Linked DNA regions of Homo sapiens: region 1 is linked to region 2. Evidence: promoter capture Hi-C in human tissues and cell types (Jung and others, 2019). All regions are on one chromosome and are shown on one strand. The core of a region is centred on a gene start or on the middle of the fragment in contact, and the rest is flanking DNA. Distances in the headings are between cores, read along the strand shown. Region 1 has its middle 93 kb from the start of CWC15. Region 2 holds the start of VSTM5 (V-set and transmembrane domain containing 5).

The links. Contacts are between HindIII fragments. The study calls those that stand out against the background at their distance.
Region 1: a fragment that was not itself captured here is called in contact with the fragment with the promoter of VSTM5 in region 2 in 1 of the 25 tissues and cell types used here (dorsolateral prefrontal cortex).

What each region holds. Positions count from the first base shown.
Region 1 is chr11:94,879,354-94,882,218 of GRCh38, forward strand. No RefSeq gene overlaps it. Among named protein-coding and RNA genes, the nearest start is that of CWC15, 93 kb to the right of the region's middle. The HindIII fragment of the contact is 5,689 bases long and covers 1-2,865 here.
Region 2 is chr11:93,848,914-93,851,917 of GRCh38, forward strand. VSTM5 (V-set and transmembrane domain containing 5) reads right to left here and starts at 1,705. Exons shown (of 4, transcript NM_001144871.2): 1 at 1,499-1,705. The coding sequence starts at 1,589. The HindIII fragment of the contact is 15,680 bases long and covers 1-3,004 here.

The DNA of each region.
Region 1 (2,865 bases), core at 6-2,505, 1.0 Mb after region 2:
AGTCATCTCTGCTAGGGTCCCCAGTCACCTTGGGCTCCTCCCCCACTCTCTCCTTTAGCTAGTTGGTCACCTGTTCCTGCCTACTTCACCCTCCCATGTTGCTTCTGTACTTTTATTTTCTCCATCCCCATGGCCTTAGTTCAAGACTTCATCTCTCTCATGGACAATTACAGTAGCCTTCTGCCTACTGTCTCATCCTACTCTATTCTTGACAAGGACACCAGAGAAACAAGAGTAATAATGACATTGATTCATTGTCATTATGCACCCAACCTCCCGTGAGCCTTTCCCATATTAGCACATTGAATTCTTACAATCACTGTTATTATAGTTCCATTGTACTGATGGAGAAACTAAGAAGTAGGGAATTTAAGCCTCTTGCCCAAAGTCCTAGAGCTTGTGAGTGCAGGGCTGGGATCCAAGCCCAGATAGACTGGCTCCAGAGCCTCCAGACCACACTGTTCTTCCCCAACCCGAGTTTCTAGAGGGATGTCTGATAATGTCACTCTTTTGAGGGAAATTGCCACAGCACTATTAGCCCCCTGTGGCCTTCAGGATAAAGCTGTGGCATTCATGCCCTGCACAGTCTGACCCCTGCCCTCTTCCCTGACTAGTTTCTCTCCACTTCCCTTTCCACCCCTACCTTCAAGTTGCTCTAGGAACCACACTGTGTCCATAATCTACTTTGTGTGTTTCCATTTCTGCACCTATCCGTGGGGTCCCTGGGATTGGGATGCCTCTGGGATTGCGATGTCCATCTGTCCAATCTAACTCATTCTTCAAGGTGAGGCTCAAATGTCACTTTTCTCAGGAAGGTATTTCCCGTCACCAGGGTCAAAATTAATTGCTCCTCTTCCATTATTAGCTGAGTCACCTGGAGAAAGTTGTTGAACTTCTGAAAACTTCTTCTTTGCAAGATGTCATGGAGCAAGTACCATGTCTGTTTTTTCATTAATGTGAATCAGGCACCTAATGCAGTTGCTGGCATACCACAGGTGCTTGAGTGTTGACTGAATGAGTCAACCCTTGAGTGTTGACTGAATGAGTCAAGGATTTAATGAGAGAAGAGTTGTAATGTATCTAAAATGACAGTGCTGTGCATCATAGCATCCATCCAGCTCTTGCCCCAAGCCGTCTCCTGTTATAGTGAACTACGTACACAAGTGTCTGTCAGCTCATCTGTTTGGGGTAGGAACCCCGACTTGTACCTAGAGTAGATGCTCATTAAAAGTTAAACCGACTGTGAATTCTCCCAAGCTTCTTATTGCATATGTTCAGTGACTGTTGTCAGGGGAACTGGAAGCAGAGATCCTTAAGTAAAATTTTATTTAAAAATTACTGTGCAAGTAATGCTATTTGTTTTTAAAAACAATCAAATGAGAATACAGAGGAGAATACGAAGAAGCCACTACCTCCTCTAAATTGCTGCATGTAGCCATTCTGTTAAGTCTGGAGGATTTCCTTCTAGGCTCCTCTACAGATATGTACAACCAAATAAATAGATATGAGTGAATGAATATAAGACCATGCTACTCATACAACTAGGTTTTTTTCATTCAACAGTAGGTCATAGACAGGTTTCCTAGGCAGCACGTGTAGATCTCTCTTATTGTGGTTTATGGTGGTATGTGTTCCTTTGTGTGGAGGAAGGGGAGTTTACTGAAACCTGAGGGTGCTCCTGCACCACCACCCAGCTCCGCAGAGCATTTCCCCAGCAATAAGGGAGAGCTAAGAGCATGGGGAATCTGGGGAGATGTTTTCTCTCCTAAGAAAGAGGCCAAAACTTGCAATATATAAGTCAGGCCTGGCCAAATGCTGGCCCTGTGTTCCTCCAGTGCATCAAAATGTTTCCATTCGCCTGTCCAGGCACTAAAAAAATTGATGATTTTCATGATGACATTGGGATCCCAAGGACTCAACAGCACCATGGCCCCAGCTTGATGGCTCAGCCCAGTCTGGCCTGGAATGCCCTGTTTCCATCCAGAAACCCTCTTTCAGCTCTCTGAGGGGCTGATTTTTCCATCCAGTGCCCTACCCTTTGGCCTAGAGAACACATTTTCCTGGCATAATTCGACTCAGCCCTAGTCCAGTCTGACTTTGTTCAGTGAGTTGATGACATTGATCCTTCCCTTGTCCCTGGCACTTCCATTTTGCAGAGCATCTATCAGAGTTTTACAAATATTTAGCTTTAGGAATAGCCTGTAAAAAGAAGCCCAGTTTATGATTCACTCATCAGGTTACTACTAAAAATTAATTATGTGCCCAGCATGCTTCAGATCTTGGGGGGAAGCCAGATAATACAGAATGCCATGGTGATCCTGCCCTGAAGGTAGACGAGGGGCAGGGAAGTGGACTGATTTCCTACTGTGCGCCAAGCATTTTATGTCATCCGTGGCATTTGGTCCTCATAACAGCAAGGACAGTGAGATTCAGAGAGGCTAAGAAGATTACCAAGGTCTACACTTACCCAAGTAAGCAGCAGGGTGGCATTTGAGCCCAGGCCTGGATGACTTTAAAAGTCAGGACGTTTCCACAGCATCATGCAACCTCCATGTTCAAGTCTAATTGAGGTCACAAGTATGATAAACAATTTGATCTTTGTCCTTGTTGGAGGATGTACACCAGGATCTCTGGACATATCTATCAAGCCCCCGCCACCCTCGGCATTTGGAGGGAAATTGGCTGATGGTACCCTGCCATGTACTGCAGGCCCCAGCTCTGAGACAGCACGGTAGACGACCCGCCTGGGTAGAGCAGACAGAGGCCCCACCAAAGTTTGCATGTGGAAGTCTCACATTTGGATACATTTAGAGAACCCAATCTGAATCTTCCCCCACTTCTATCTCTGAGCGCTCCGTTGCCGCC
Region 2 (3,004 bases), core at 455-2,954:
TAAAAAGCCACTGCAATGACAAACACACCCATCCACCTGCTCGAGACTAACAACCAACTGTTTTCTTGATCCATAGCTGCCAGAGGAACATGCCTCTGTCTTACTGGGTTTCTGAGATTTGCAACCTCTGCAGCTGGGTTCTAGCCAGAGAGGTGTAAAGGTCAAAAATGTTAGATCGTTCAGTCACCTTGTATAAGTTAACATAATATTATTTTTTCTCTCTCTCTCTTCTTTTCTTTTTCTTTCGCTTTGGAGAAGGTCTCATTCTGTTCCCCAGGCTAGAGTGCAGTGGCACAATCAGGGCTCACTGAAGCCTCAATCTCCTGGGCTTAAGTGATCCTTTCACCTCAGCTCCCCCGCCGCCCACCCCAGTAGCTGGGCCTACAGGCACAGGCCACCACACCCAGCTAATTTTTTCATATTTTTACTACAGACAGTTTGCCATGTTGCCCAGGCTGGTCTTGAACTCCTGGACTCAAGGGATCCGCTGGCCTCGGCCTCCCAAAATGCTGGGAATACAGGCATGAGCCCCTGCGATTGGCTTATAACATTTCTGTGCCTCAGTTTCCTCACTTGTGAAACAGGAATAAGAGTAGTTTATTAGGGTTGCCCTAAGGACTAAATGAGAGAGGTCTTGTAAAGTCTGAGGGATGGTGAATGCATAAATGCTTAATAAGTGCTGGCTCTTACTACAAGGCCTCTCACCTCCAGCGGCCCTGCTCTGTCATTCTCTAAACCTCAGTTGGCCCATGTGTAAGATGGGAGTGCGAATGGTAATGATTAAATGAGAAAGTAAAACTGTGCTAAGATCTGTTGTTTGTGTCCAAGAGAGCCTCTGGGACTACGCTTCGCATCCAGGCTCACCAGGCTGGGGATTCCGGGTCCGGCCATCCAAAGCAAATCTACTCAGTGCGCTGGTCGCGAGGACCACCTCCAGCCTGGGGACTTCAGGCCACAACGCCCAACCCAAACCCCAGAACCGTTTTTCTCACGGGAGCAGGCTGCTGTGGGTTCGTCTGACTGATAAGGAGGCCTGATTATTCTCCTGGGAGATGACCAGGAAGGCCATGGAGGGGTCCCCACAGTAGGGGGCGGCGCACGGACTGCAATCTGGTTATTCCAGGAAAAAGAAATAAAAAATGTTGCAGAGGCGGCGGCCACAGGGCTGGGAGCCGGTTATCTCTGGGCCACCTTCCAGCTCTGATAACCGTAGGCCGGGCTCGCCGGGTGGGGCGGGCGCCCCGAAGTGGGCCGGGGCGCCGCGGCCGGTAGCCTCTGCTTTGCCCAGCCCCTCCCGCTACGGTCGGCGCCGGGTCTCCAGGCCTCGCCCAGCCCCACGAGGAAGCGGCGCGGTGCCTGCCAGCCGAGCTCACCGCGCGCCCTCAGCCGGACAAGGTGGGCGAGGGCCAGGGGGGCCGCTGCTAGACCCCGGGGCCCCGCCCGTGCCCCCCTACCCATTCCCGCTCCCCCAGCACCCGGGGCGTCCCCCGGAGCTTACTCTGCAGACAGCGGGCTGCGGCCAGGCAGAGGGCGAAGAGTCCTAGGGAGATGCCTCGGGTCTTCCTCCTCCCGCTGGGCAGAGGCCTCATGGGCGAGCCCGGGGCCTCGCGGGCCGGGGTGTGTGCTGGCCGCACCGCGCTGCAGCTCCTATGCAGCCTTCTCTCTTCCTCCGCCTCTGGCTGCCGCAGGTTCTTTAGGGCCAGATGCAGATGAGCTGGTTGTACTCTGGTTGAACCAGTTCCCAAGGATGGGGGGGCGGGGGGGGGGGGGTGTTGCGCGGGAGAGAATTAATATGGGAAGGAATGGGAATGCACAGACTCAGAGGTAAATAATGGCAAATAATGAGCAGCCTCCTTCCGTTCACACCCATTTTACTGGTATTGATTCAAGGTTCGGCTGGATGCTAGGTGGCAGGAAGGAGGGAAAGTACTAGCTATTGCTTCAGGACAGAGCTAGTCATTGGCATCATGGGCAAAGGGAAGGCTTTTAGGAAAGTGAAATGACAGCCTGGAGTGAGAGGGATGAGGGGAGGGGGTGGGGAGACTCAGGCTGCCCTGATGGGAACCACTGCACAGTGATGATATCCATCCATCTATCCACCCATCAGTCCATCCATCCATCCCTCCATCCATCCAGGAAATGTTCACCAATCGCCTGCTTTATTTGCACAGAGCCTCGCACATGGCAGTCACTCAAATAAACCGGTGGAATGAAGCTAGGCACTGTGTTAAGTGCTGGGGATACAAGGATGTGGGCACCTGTTTAGAAATCCTAGCAAGGGGTGGGGGCTGCAAAAAATGAGCAACCGCTAGGCCGAGGCGGGCGGATCACGAGTTCAGGAGATCGAGACCATCTTGGCTAACACAGTGAAACCCCGTCTCTACTAAAAATACAAAAAAAAAAATTAGCCGGGCGTGGTGGTGGGTGCGTGTAGTCCTAGCTGCTCGGGAGGCTGAGGCAGGAGAATGGCGTGAACCCGGGAGGCAGAGCTTGCAGTGAGCCGAGATAGCGCCACTGCACTGCAGCCTGGGCGACAGAGGGGGACTCCGTCTCAAAAAAAAAAAAAAAAAAAAAAGCAACCGCTGTACAGTGCATATGTCGCTAGGATCAGAGAGGCCCAGCATGCTCTGGGGGCTCAGAGCAAGTGTAATTAGTCTCCAGGAGAGGTCGATGGAGGGGTGGGGCAATCAGTTTTGGTCCAAACTAGTCATGAAATTATATTTCACTTTGTCAAAACTAGAATTTCTAGCCTCACTTGCCACAAGGGGTAGCAGTGTGACCCAGTGCTGGCCAGTGATATTTAAGGGGAAGTCTTTTTGAGGTGTTTCTGGAAAAGTTTTTGCTTTCCTCATAAAAAGGACAGCTAAGGCTGGGACTTCCCCTCCCCCTTTCTTTCTGCCTTGAAAACATTTATTCTGTTCAGATCTGTGGCATGTGTCTTGCATCCATTAAGTTACATAAATGAATGCAAAAACCATCATGCTAAGTAAGGATGGTGGAGCAG